Linked DNA regions of Homo sapiens: all the other regions are linked to region 3. Evidence: promoter capture Hi-C in human tissues and cell types (Jung and others, 2019). All regions are on one chromosome and are shown on one strand. The core of a region is centred on a gene start or on the middle of the fragment in contact, and the rest is flanking DNA. Distances in the headings are between cores, read along the strand shown.

Region 1 (3,397 bases), core at 61-2,560, 210 kb after region 3:
CCTTTTATAAGCCCCTCAGCTGGGTACGGCTCACTCTTATGACAAGAAATTTATTTCCTGGAGACATTATGGCCTTCATAAGGAATGTTTCAGGTTGTGATTTACTGGGTACCTTAGACACACATAAGGGGAGATTTTTTCAGGGTCCTGTCATAGCATCAAAAACCAAAATAACAAAACCAGCCAGGTGAGGTGGCTCACACCTGTAACCAAAGCACTTAGGGAGGCCAAGGTGGGTGGATCACCTGAGGTCAGGAGTTCGAGACCAGCCTGGCCAACATGGCGAAACCCCATCTCTACTAAACATACAAAAATTAGCCAGGTGTGGTGGCGAGTGACTGTAATCTCAGCTACTTTGGAGGCTGAGGCAGGAGAATCGCATGAACCCAGGAGGTGGAGGTTGCAGTGAGCCGAGATCATGCCATTGCACTGAAGCCTGGGTGACAAGAGTGAAACTCTGCCTCAAAAGAAAAAAAAAAAACCAGTAGGCATGAAAATTGAAAGTCAAGAGACTCATCCCCTTTTGATTTCTAGCCCTCTTTTCACCCAGAACTATTAAAAACCTTGGCCAGATTTTAAAATGCTAAATTAAACAGACCATATATTAACAGGTATATTTAAATTGTACACATAAAGAAAATTACATAAAGGCCAGGCACGGTGGCTCACACCTGTAATCTCAGCACTTTATGAGGTTGAGGCGGGCGGATCACTTGAGGCCAGAAGTTCAAGGCCAGCCTGGCCAACGTAGTGAAACCCCGGCTTTACTAAAAATACAAAAATGAGCTGGATGTGGGTGACATGTGCCTGTAATCCCAGCTACTCGGGAGGCAGAGGTGAGAGAATCGGTTGAACCCAGGAGGCAGAGGTTGCAGTGAGCCAAGATTGCACCATTGCACTCCAGCCTGGGTGACAGAGTGAGACTCTGTCTCAAAAAAAAAAAAAAAAAAAGAAAAAAAAAGAAAAAAGAAAATTACATATACCATTAAAATTGTATACCTATATGTCACAATTTTTCAAATGCTTGGAAATGACATATCAAATTATAGTTGATTGCATTTGATAAATATACAATAAAATAAAATGCAGAACAACCAAACTCCAAATAGAATATGCCTTTGTCTCTTGAATGTTGAAGAGATACTTAAATCAAATGTGATCACATTGAATTGATCAGATAGGAGCCAGTGCTAACTCAATCAACCACTGATTCCTAAGGCAGCAAAGAGCCCAGCTGGAGAAGCAAGCTTCTCCTCTACCTCACCCTCCCTCAGTCATCCTGGGTGCTACATTGTCTTCTGTAGAATTTGCTCAGCATTCACTATCTGAGCTGACAAATTTGGCTAGATTATTATCACAACCCTAACACATTTTGGTTCTTTGTTCTTGTTTCTTTGTTTAAAATAGGTTGTGGATATAACTATTACATCATGAAACTTTTTTTTTTTTTTGAGATGGTGTCTAGCTCTGTTAGCCAGACTGGAGTGCAGTGGCGTGGTCTGAACTCACTGGAACCTCCACCTCCCAGGTTCAAGCGATTCTCTTGCCTCAGCCTCCTGAGTAGCTGGGATTACAGGCGCCTGCCACCACACCCAGCTAATTTTTTGTATTTTTAGTATAGATGGGGTTTCGCCATGTTGGCCAGGCTGGTCTCAAACTTCTGACCTCATGATCCGCCCGCCTTGGCCTCCCAAAGCACTGGGATTACAGGCATGAGCCACCACACGTAGCCTACATCATGAATCTTTAGAAACCCAGTATGGTACTTGTCTGGGTCTAGTCCTAAAAATAATAAACAGATCCAAAAAACTGTTGCAACATTAACCTTTGAAAGCTGCCTGTGATGATACTGACTCACTGACCTCCTTTCTCCTCAATCCACAGAGAAAGTGCAAGAACCACCAGGTCTTAGGGCACATGGCCAGGACCAGGAGGTACCCAGTGAAGTGCTCTAATGTGGTCCTGTCCCACAGCCCCTGAACCAAATAAGGACAAGCAGAACCTGAAACCAAGGAAGGCTTGGGAACTGCAGACTCCAGGACTCTTTACTAAGACTAACAGGAGGAATGAAGGCAAAGATCAGATACCTGCAGGGTTGAAACCGTACCCAGACTTTGGAATTTTAGTGTCTCCTTCTTTACTCTGTGTCCACAGCCCTCTTTAAGAGTGGAGAGAGAAACATAATAGAAATACATGAAGAGTCTGGGTGCGGTGGCTCACGCCTGTAATCCCAGCACTTTGGGAGGCCGAGGGGGGCAGATCATGATGTCAGGAAATCGAGACCATCCTGACTAACACGGTGAAACCCCATCTCTACTGAAAAATACAAAAAAAAAAATTAGCCAGGCGTGCCTATAGTTCCAGCTGCTCAGGAGGCTGAGGCAGGAGAATCGCTTGAACCTGGGAGGTGGAGGTTGCAGTGAGCTGAGATCGTGCCACTACACTCCAACCTGGTGACAGAGCGAGACTCTGTTTCAAAAAAAAAAAATACATGAAGAGCCCAGCATACTCCTGAGTTCCTCTCTCAGGAGCTCATTCTATTCCTGGAGGATCATTGTGAGCAGGTGTATGAGGATACCTTGAAACTGCATGTGGCAGGCACAATTGCAGTAGATTACAAATGAAAGCCCATCTTGATTGGACATGAAGAAACCATGCAAGGATGCTTGGAGTTGGGGGCTGGATTTGACATGAAGGCAGAAGATACCTTCACAAAGTTCAGAAGACCTTCATTGCTTTCCTCACAGCAAAATATGAGCGAGGACAGTGCCCCTGCTGTTCCTTCCCTGGGTGGTGACAGAAAGTTGAGACACATACAAACACTTAACATAGTTTACTCAGCAAGCAAGAAAATCTTGGAAGGAAGATTCTACTGCAGAATTTGTGCAGCAGATATGAACTGAAGCATCAGCAAAACTGAAAAGTAATGAGAGAATCTGGTGGCTCTGAGGTGTTTTTTTCCCTTTGTTTCCTGCTTAGTTGCTCTTTGAGGATCCCCTGACTTGTTTTACTCCTGTGCCCTTTATGAATGAGTGATGATCATCTTAAAAATCAGGATGTTCGGCCAGGTGCGATGGCTCACGCCTGTAATCCCAGCACTTTGGGAGGCCGAGGCGGGTGGATCACCTGAGGTCAGGAGTTCGAGCCCAGCCTCACCAACATGGTGAAACTCCATCTGTACTGAAAATACAAAAATTAGCCTGGCTTGGTGGTGTGTGCCTGTAGTGCCCACTACTCAGGAGCCTGAGGCAGGATAATTGCTTGAACCCAGGAGGCAGAGGTTGCAGTGAGCCAGGATTGCACCACTGCACTCCAGCCTGGGTAACAGAGAGAGACTCTGTCTCCAAAAAAAAAAAAAAGAAATCAGGATGGTAAAAAATATTTTTCATGTATGTGT
Region 2 (3,208 bases), core at 706-3,205, 160 kb before region 3:
AGCTTGCTGGAACTGTACAATGCAGTTCACTGACTGATCATCACCGAGGTCAAAGCCAATCTTGCTCATCAAAGTACCAGCAAAACTGGATTGTAAGACAAGCACTTGCAATCCTGTAAGTCTTACTATCTTAAAGCCAGATCTACCTATATGGACTACAGGTTACTCCATTGCATTACAAAGCTATGGTCAAAAAACTAAAATAACTTTGTATATTCTAAAGAGGACTCAAACCAAGCAGTCAGCCCAGCAGCAATTCTGAGTCTTTAAGTCATTCTTTGAGCATATAAACCAGAAGTTACCAGAGCCTCCTCCTTTAGGCAAAAACCTATTTGCTCAGCTGGCTGAAAACACTGCCAGCAGCCTAGGCGTTTCCTCATGTTATGTTTGTGAAGGGACTAACATGGGAGACCAATGGCCTTGGGAAGTAAAAGAGTTAATGCCTCAAGATAACTTTACTCTGACTGACTCTTTTCCCAAACAGATGCCCACAGGTTCAAGCGTCTGGCTCTTAAAAACTTCTATTATTGGGAGATACTGTGTTGCTTGCTGGGGAAAGGATTTTACAGACCCAGTAGAAGAACAAACCTGCTTAGGACAGCAATATTATAATGAACCATTAAGGAAAACTTTGTGGTGGGACAGAGATGACTACAAAGCACATCATCCAAATTCGTTCTCCCATTTCTCTTCTCTAAATTACACTTGGTATCAACTTGCAGCTCCAAATACTTGGCAAGCACCCCCGGTCTTTACTGGATCTGTGGGCCTCAAGCATATTGACAGTTGCCAGCTAAATGGACAGGGGGCTGTGTGCTTGGAACAATTAGACCATCTTTCTTCCTGCTCCCACTGCAACAGGGGAAAACTTTAGGGTATCCTGTCTATGATGAAGTTAGAAGAAGAAACAAAAGAGATGCAGCCATAAAAAATATATAAAAAATAGGAGATTGGGAAGACATAGGGAAGTCCCCTGAAAGAATAATTCAACACTATGGGCCAGCTACCTGGGCACAAGATGGGTCACGGGGATACTGCACTCCTATTTACATGCTTAACCACATCATAAGGTTGCAGGCAGTACTTGAAATCATCATGAATGAAAGAGCAAATGCATTAGATTTACTGGCCCAGCAAACCACAAAAATGAGAAATGCTAACTATCAGAACAGATTAGCTTTAGATTACCTCCTAGCCCAGGAAGGAGGAGTATGAGGAAAGTTCAATCTAACTAATTGTTGCCTGGAAATTGATGACAATGGAAAAGCAATTATGGAAATAACTGCAAGAATGAGAAAATTAGCCCATATTCCAGTTCAAACTTGGAAAGGGTGGTCCCCAGATTCTCTCTTTGGAGGCTGGTTTTCATTTTTCACAGGGTTCAAGATTTTAATAAGGGTGGTTCTGGCCATACTAGGAACTGCCTAATACTCCCTTGTGTCTTACATCTGCTTGTTAGAAGCATTCAATCAACTATAGAGGAAATAGTAGCTAGGCAAACTACCACACAGCTCATGACTCTGTGTAAATATCAAGCTTTGTCTAAAGAAGAAAACTTGTCTCTTCAGGCAGAACTAAGTAATAGTGATGACTTCTATTAAACTTCTTTCATAAAAGGCATCAGAAAGGGGAAACTGAGGCAAGCATTTAAAAATAATAAGTATTACAATTATTCACTCCAAGAAAAGTAAAAGCTAAGGCCCAGAATGTGGCAAGACAAGGATTAAAAAGAAAAGAACACGTTTTCCTCTGCCTAGCAGCTCACTTCAAGAACAGTTAGAAGATAACGCTGTCTGTACAGCCAAGGCCAAAGGAATGGACTCCAGGCACCCCCCTCCCTTCCAGAGCAAGGTTGAAGGAAGGAAAAAAAAAAAAAGAGAAAGACAAGTTATTTTACTGTTACTCTTTTCCCAGGCTTCTTAAGCAGGATTATGTTTTACAAATGTCTGTATTTCGCCAGTTCTTGTTTTCCTTCTAATGCAGCTACAAGGCCACTGGCTAGGTCACAAGTAATGTTATACTATAGATTACATGACCTGTCATTGTATGATTAACTGCTTTTGTTTTGCTTCTGAAAGGCCGCTTATAAAAACCCCACTCTGTGTTCAATGCTCAGCTTTTGGATGTGAATCCTCTGAGCCGGTGCACAACTAAAATAAAAAATCCTCCTGTACTCCGTATTGGTCTCTTAATTCCTCAGTTTACTGCAATAAAAGTACTGTTTTTCTACTTTTTTCTAAATTTACCTGTAATATAAAATTGTTAGCCAAGAAGACTTTATCTTATTCAAATATGTTTTATGGGATTTCATTAAGTGTCTGAATTATCTGGAGTACTTACATTTTCCATTAAGCTAAATTGAGTACTACAGATAATCTTTAACTAAAAGCTTTTCTGAGGCAGAATAAGATTTGTAACATTTTATTATCATATGAAAGAAGTGTATTAACCATGTTTTCAGTAATCACTCTGAACACAGCATTCTCAGTTCCCAGTATGCACCCTGAGTCACTCAGGGGAAACTGGTTTCTCTGTAAAGAGGCAGAAGAAAATGCTGAGTGGAGGCACCACACTGCACAGCAATGCTTTCCACATGCACCTATTAGGGTCTTCATTTAATTGGGCTGATATTTGCATAGCTACTTACTGAATTTAGTCATACTATTTTTGAGCAGCTAATGGTGTCTGTTACCTATTAATTTTATACATTTGCTTTTTTTGAAAAACAAATCTTTTGTTAATTTACTCTAAGTTGAGACTACATTTAAAATGTTCAATTTTTCAGCGTTAAAGCAAATCAGAGAAGAGCAATGTGTATATAGTGTGCATTTTCCTATCAAAATTCTTTATTGCATTGGAAACCCCAGGAAGCCAACTATAAAATACTCCCTTTGAATACTTTAGCCAGGATTTTAGACTTCAAAAGGTCAAAAACAATGAGCAAAGTCAAAATCTTGTTTTTATTTCTTGTTAGTCATCTGGCCATTTCCAAAAGCATGATAATTAAGCCAAGTCATTGAAAATATGCAGTTTTGATTAATTTTATCCCATTTGGAATGTTTTCTTTAATTGTTTTATCATGTTAATCTAAAAGAAACTGTCTACATAATTATGCTTTCAAGAATTATTCATATTGTTTACAGTTTAATCATTTACTACAGTATAGTAAAATCATTTACAATAGAATTATGAATTCATTGTTTTTAAG
Region 3 (3,302 bases), core at 296-2,795:
CCTTCTGGTCAAAAAGGGGCCCACTTTTGTTTTCAAATCCTGTTTGTGATGCCAAAAATGTTCTGTATGGGAAACGTGGGAGAGGAGAAGAAAAGACATACATACAATAACTTTAATGGTAAACAAGCTTTAACCCACATCAATATCAATGCAGACAGAATAAACTAATGATATAATAAGCAAATGATATAATAAGCAAATAAATATAATACACAGATTGATATAATAAGCAAATTGCAGTAAGAAGAGGAGATGGGAAAAGATATATATATATATTTACCCTCACTAGACTATGGAGGATTACCAACTGAGTAGGAAGAAACAGCCCAGGCTCCAGAGTCGGCCACCCATTCATGCACAGACAAGGAGTCTCATGAAGCTTCAGGGTGGTCTGGGACCCTAGCTCTTTTGTAACGAGTTGTTTGGCATAAGGCCCAGTGAGGAGGGCCATTTGGGACTTGCCTCACGGAACACAAAAGGGTCAAGTTGTTTTTGTGATTGTCTATTGTTTTTCAACAACTAATGTATAGTAATAGAATGAAATAGACATTTCTTTGATACAGCTCTGGATGAACACCTCAGGGGCTCACAACCAGGACCTGTTCTGGGACTTGGTGACCATTGTGTCCACGTTCAATTGAGTTCAAATTTAACATTTAACTTTTCCTCCATAAATTCTCCTGTCTTCATGAATTGGCTCTGTCTAGGCAAAGGGCAAAATGAACCCCTTGGGCTGTTACATAACCTCCACCTCCTGGGTTCAAGTGATTCTCCTGCCTCAGCCTCCGGAGTAGCTGGGACCACAGATGTGCACCACCATACCCAGCTAATTTTTTACATTGTGAGTAGAGATGGGGTTTCACCATGTTGGCCAGGCTAGTCTTGAACTCCTGACCTCAAGTGATCCACCCACCTTGGCCTCCCAAAGTGTTGGGATTACTGGCATGAGCTACCTGTGCCTGACCCTAAATTATTTCTATCTCTTATAGCAGTTTGAAATTACTTAAAGGTTGTTTCAAGTTGAAAAAATAAGAAGAATGTGGATAAAAATAAAATATAAATAGATAAAAAAATTACAGGGATTACAAAATATATATGTAAATCTGGAGTGGTCAAAAATGACAAATTTGATTTATTTATAAGGTTTTATTAAAATTAGCTTTAATCGTTAATACACTATTACCAAAGTAAAAGCTGATTTTCTCTTGAACAAAAATTTTATGTATTATTAATATGACAGCAAAATACTTCTGTTCACCTTTGAATACATTCAACAAGACAGAGAGTAAAAAAGAGATAAAATGTTCCCATGCTCTGGCATGGACCAGGCTCAGCTCTGGGAGGAAGCCCTGCCTGAAAAGGCTGCAGCTTAGGCTGTCACTCTTTTCTTCACTCCGCCCAGCAGCTGATCACATCTTCTGTCACTCAGTGTCTGAGGGGGCGGGACCTTAAGCATTAGCCAATCAGAGGCGCTGGGCTGGAAACCGTCCAATCAGGCACGCAGCTGGAATGAACAGGACGGCTTCCGGATTTGGCGGGGTCTTTGTCTCTCCCTGCAGCTGGAGCTCCAGGTCGTCTGTTCACTGCTCTCTGTCTTCTTCTCCTAGAGGCCCAGCCTCTGTGGCCCTGTGTCCTGCAGGTATTGGGAGATCCACAGCTAAGACGCCAGGACCCCCTGGAAGCCTAGAAATGGTGAGAGTGCCGGTCCAGCATCCCGAGAGAGGTGAAGTGTCTGTGGCGGGACTCAGGCCTCCCCTCAGTCAGCTCCACAATCTGCACCCCGAATTCTCCTTACCCAGCTCTGCCTCAGTCCCATTCAGCCATAAGATGGCGGCTACGCTGACAGCCTGGCCCCCGGGCGTCCTGTCGCTTCCCCGCGCAGTGACTGTGCCCCTGGCCTGGAGCGCTCTGTGGGCAGCTCTGCACCCGCAGTGCCGTGTCTCTCCCAGATTGTGCAGGGACCACCGGAGGGTCTTCAGGGGAGAATGCTGACTCGCGGTGCGGGTTCATGAATGGGAAGAGCTTTGGTCTGTGGGGTTCACAGTTTCTCTTTTCTGCTATTAAAATTGTATGGGGCCGGGCGCGGTCGTTCAAGCCTGTAATCCCCGCACGTTGGGAGGCCGAGGCGGGCGGATCACTTGAGGTCAGGAGTTGAAGACCAGACTGACCAAAATGGGGAAACCCCTTGTCTACTAAAAATACAAAAATTAGGTGGATATGTTGGCGAATGTCTGTAGTCCCAGCTTCTCGGGAGGCAGAAGTGAGAGAATCGCTTGAACCCGGGAGGCGGAGGTTGCAGTGAGCTGAAATCCTGCCACTGCACTCCAGCCTGGGCGACAGAGCAAGACTCTTGTCTAAAAAAAAAAAAAAAAAAAAAAAATTATGGGAGTCACTGCAAAAATATCAAACAATTTAATCAAAGAGTGATTCAAGAATTGTAGAGCACCCAGCTATAGTTTGTAGTTTGTGGTCCATGGGAGAGGCTTGAAGAAAAGACATTTATAAAATGCATGATGAGGAAAACCAAATTCAATAATTTGTTAGGTTTAGTAATGTAGTTTCTTAATTTGTACAATCAAGGTGGAAATTTCCTGGTTATGTAATTAGAGCTTAATTGGCAGTTTATAGTTGCTGAAGCCTGAATTTTGTTTCCCCTAATGTAGTAATTTGCCAAAAAATGCACTTGAGCTTAGATTTTTTTTTTTTTTTTTTTTTAGAAATAGAAATCCGGGGACTAGAGCCTCTTCAGTCTAATTGCCTGCCACTTAATTATTTTCACATCCCACAGGGGACTGACTTTCCCTGGCATTTTTCACATGTGTCCCAAGCAGGGCCTCAAGTGTCCCCCATGTTCCTCAATTAATTATTATTATTATTATTATTTTTTGAGACGGAGTCTTGCTCTGTCGCCAGGCTAGAGTGCAGTGTCAGATCTTGGCTCACTGCAACCTCCACCTCATGGGTTCAAGCGATTCTCCTGCTTCAGCCTCTCCAGTAGTTGGGACTACAGGCAAGCGCCACCACTCCCAGCTAGTTTTCATATTTTTAGTAGAGATGAGGTTTCACCATGTTTGCCAGGAATGCTAGTTACCAAGGAAAAATATAGGGAAAATCTCTCTTCCATTTTGGCTGTAGACAATGAATATATTTCCACAGGAAAATGTGGTAGATAATTGAGGAGTTACATGGATTCATCAACACATTAGTTCCTCTTTTTGCAGGGTAAATTTTTTCTATATCCTTTTATTTTGATTTCTGAGTTAAATGCTAAATTTTAAGTGATGAAACATGGTACCTTCTAG
Region 4 (3,069 bases), core at 131-2,630, 240 kb after region 3:
GAAAAGCATCATGAAAATCCCTATCCTGTTCTGTTCTGTTCTGACTAGTGGTACATGCAGCCCCCAGTCACATACCCTCTGCTTGCTCAATCAATCATGACCTTTTCAGGCGGACCCCGTTATAGTTGTAAGCCCTTGAAAGGGACAGGAATTGCTCACTCAGGGAGCTCAGTTTTTGGAGATGTGAGTCTTCCAATGCTGCCAGCTGAATAAAGCCCTTTCCTTCTGCAACTCGGTGTCTGAGGGGTTCTTGTCTGTGTCTCATCCTGCTACAACAGAGGTGGGCAGATCACGAGGTCAGGAGTTCCAGACCAGCCTGACCAACATGGTGAAACCCCGTCTCTAGTAAAAATACAAAAATTAGCCAGGCGTGGTGGTGCAAGCCTTTAATCCCAGCTACTCAGGGGGCTGAGGCAGGAGAATCACTTGAACCCGGGAGGCAGAGGTTGTAGTGAGCCAAGATTGCGCCATTGCACTCTAGCCTGGTCGACAGAGCAAGACTCCATCTCAAAAAAATTAAAAATAGGCTGGGTTGGTGGCTCATGCCTGTAATCCCAGCACTCTGGGAGGCTGAGGTGGATGGATCACCTGAGGTCGGGAGTTCGAGACTAGCCTGACCAACGTGAAGAAACCCTATCTCTACTAAAAATACAAAATTAGCCAGGTGTGGTGGAGCATGCCTGTAATCCCAGCTACTCAGGAGGCTGAGGCAGGAGAATCGCTTGAACCCGGGAGGCAGAGGTTGTGGTGAGCCAAGATTGTGCCATTGCACTCCAGCCTGGGCAACAAGAGTGAAACTCTATCTCAAAAAATAATAATAAATAAAAATAATAAAAAATAATAATGAATAAGTAAATAAAATAAAAATAAGGGATAAATATGCAAGGAAATAGCATAAAGAAAAAACAATCAGAACCTCAGGAAATATTGGACACACTTATAAAAATGCAAAATGCTCTGGAAAGTCTCAGCAATAGAATTGAACAAGTAGAAGAAAGAAATTCAGAGATCAAAGACAAGATCTTCAAATTAACACAATCCAGCAAAGACAAAAAAAAATGAACAAAACCTTAAAGAAGCCTGAATAATTGGTTTTTCTGAAAAAGAAGAAAAATCTAAAAGTTTGGAAAACATATTTGGGGAAATAATTGAAGAAAACTTACCTGGTTTTGCCAGAGGCCTAGACATTCAAATACAAAAAGCACAAAGAATACCTGAGAAATTCATCACAAAAAGATCATCACCTAATCACATTGTCATCAGGTTATCTAACGTTAAGATGAAGGAAAGAATCATATCATATATACATATATATATATACACATCATATATATATATCATCATATACACACACACACACACACACACACACACACACAATGGAATACTACTCAGCCATAAAAAGGAATGAATTAACATTTGCAGTGACCTGGATAACATTGGAGACTATTATTCTAAGTGAAGTCACTCAGGAATGGAAAATCAAACATTGAATGTCCTCACTGAGATGTGGGAGCTAAGCTATGAGGACACAAAGGCATAAGAATGATGCAATGGACTTTGGGGATGTTGGGGAAAGAGTAGGAGGGGGATGAGGGATAGAGACTACCAATATGGTGCAGTGTATACTGCTCTACTGCTCAGGTGATGGGTGCAACAAAATCTCACAAATCACCACTAAAGAACATACTAATGTAACCAAATACCACCTGTAGCCCAGTAACTTATGGGGAAAAAAAAGAGACTTAAAAAAATATATATATATACAAAAATTAGCCAGGCATAGTGGTGCATGCCTGTAGTCCCAGCTACTTGGGAGGCTGAGGGGAGAATCACTTTAACCTGGGAGGCGGAGGTTGCATTGAGCCAAAATTGTGCCATTGCACTCCAGCCTGAGCCACAGAGTGAGACTCTGTCTCAAAAAATATATATAAAAAATAAAACTAGTAATCCAGGCAAAACAAAAATGAATTATACATTATGAAAATACTCTGCCACATTTTTATACTAAATCAGCCAGTACTGAAATTTTTTAGATGTGCCATTTGAGTAAACTGTGTGTTCCAAGTCAGATTACCTATGATAACCTCTCAGTTATCAGTGCTATGAACCTAAATTGAAGAAACAAACTTGATATTTAAGAGGACATAAATTTAATGTTAAGTGTGAACTCATAGAGAACCTAGACAGCAGTGACTTTTTTCATTCCTGAGTTCTTAAAGCTTCCTTTATCAAAAGCACTGCATTTTATCACTCGCCACAGAAGAGATAAAAAATAGTCTAAGTTGGCGGGGCACAGTGGCTCATGCCTGTAATCCCAGCACTTTCAGAGGCCGAGGTGGGCAGATCACCTGAGGTCAGGAGTTCAAGACCAGCCTGACCAACACGGAGAAACTCTGTCTCTACTAAAAATACAAAATTAGCTGGGTGTGGTGGTGCACTCCTGTAATCCCAGCTACTTGGGCGGCTGAGGCAGGAGAATCACTTGAACCTGGGAGGCAGAGGTTGCAGCGAGCTGAGATGGTGCCATTGCAGTCCAGCCTGGGCAATAAGAGTGAAACTCCATCTCAAAAAAATACATAATAATAATCTAAGTTAAATATAAATTAAATGTGTGTGTGTGTGTGTGTGTGTGTGTGTGTGTGTGTGTGTGGTGACTGTCCTAACTACCAAAATAGGTTAGGACCGTTTTTTTCCTCTCAAACATATAATCCTGAGAAGACAATCCAAACTTCATGTACACTTTGGGAGACCAAGGCGGGTGGATCACAAGGTCAGGAGATTGAGACCATCCTGGCGAACACGGTGAAACCCCGTCTCTTCTAAAAATACAAAAAAAAAAAAAAAAAATTAGCCGGGCATGGTGGCAGGCACCTGTAGTCCCAGTTACTCGGGAGGCTGAGGCAGGAGAATGGCATGAACTCGGGGGATGGAGCTTGCAGTGAGCCGAGATCGCGCCACTGCACTCCAGCCTGGGTGACAGAGCGAGACTCCATCTCAAAAAAAAAAAAAAAAAAAGCTTCATGTACATTTCTGCTACCTGAGGATCTATTTAAACATTTGTAAAGA

Evidence for each region. Contacts are between HindIII fragments. The study calls those that stand out against the background at their distance.
Region 1: a contact is called between a fragment that was not itself captured here and the fragment with the promoter of ZNF66 in region 3, in 1 of the 25 tissues and cell types used here (hippocampus).
Region 2: a contact is called between a fragment that was not itself captured here and the fragment with the promoter of ZNF66 in region 3, in 3 of the 25 tissues and cell types used here (H1 embryonic stem cells, adrenal gland and aorta).
Region 4: a fragment that was not itself captured here is called in contact with the fragment with the promoter of ZNF66 in region 3 in 1 of the 25 tissues and cell types used here (hippocampus).

What each region holds. Positions count from the first base shown.
Region 1 is chr19:20,981,008-20,984,404 of GRCh38, forward strand. It overlaps LOC112268247 (a long non-coding RNA gene), which reads left to right. Exons shown (of 2, transcript XR_002958424.1): 2 at 1,885-2,936. Among named protein-coding and RNA genes, the nearest start is that of ZNF430, 38 kb to the right of the region's middle. The HindIII fragment of the contact is 6,593 bases long and covers 1-3,397 here.
Region 2 is chr19:20,615,923-20,619,130 of GRCh38, forward strand. It overlaps LOC105372318 (a long non-coding RNA gene), which reads left to right. Exons shown (of 2, transcript XR_936412.4): 2 at 1-2,173. Among named protein-coding and RNA genes, the nearest start is that of ZNF626, 44 kb to the right of the region's middle. The HindIII fragment of the contact is 5,204 bases long and covers 1-3,208 here.
Region 3 is chr19:20,774,759-20,778,060 of GRCh38, forward strand. ZNF66 (zinc finger protein 66) reads left to right here and starts at 1,546. Exons shown (of 4, transcript NM_001355197.2): 1 at 1,546-1,692. The coding sequence starts at 1,690. The HindIII fragment of the contact is 10,177 bases long and covers 1-3,302 here.
Region 4 is chr19:21,010,316-21,013,384 of GRCh38, forward strand. No RefSeq gene overlaps it. Among named protein-coding and RNA genes, the nearest start is that of ZNF430, 8.8 kb to the right of the region's middle. The HindIII fragment of the contact is 6,310 bases long and covers 1-3,069 here.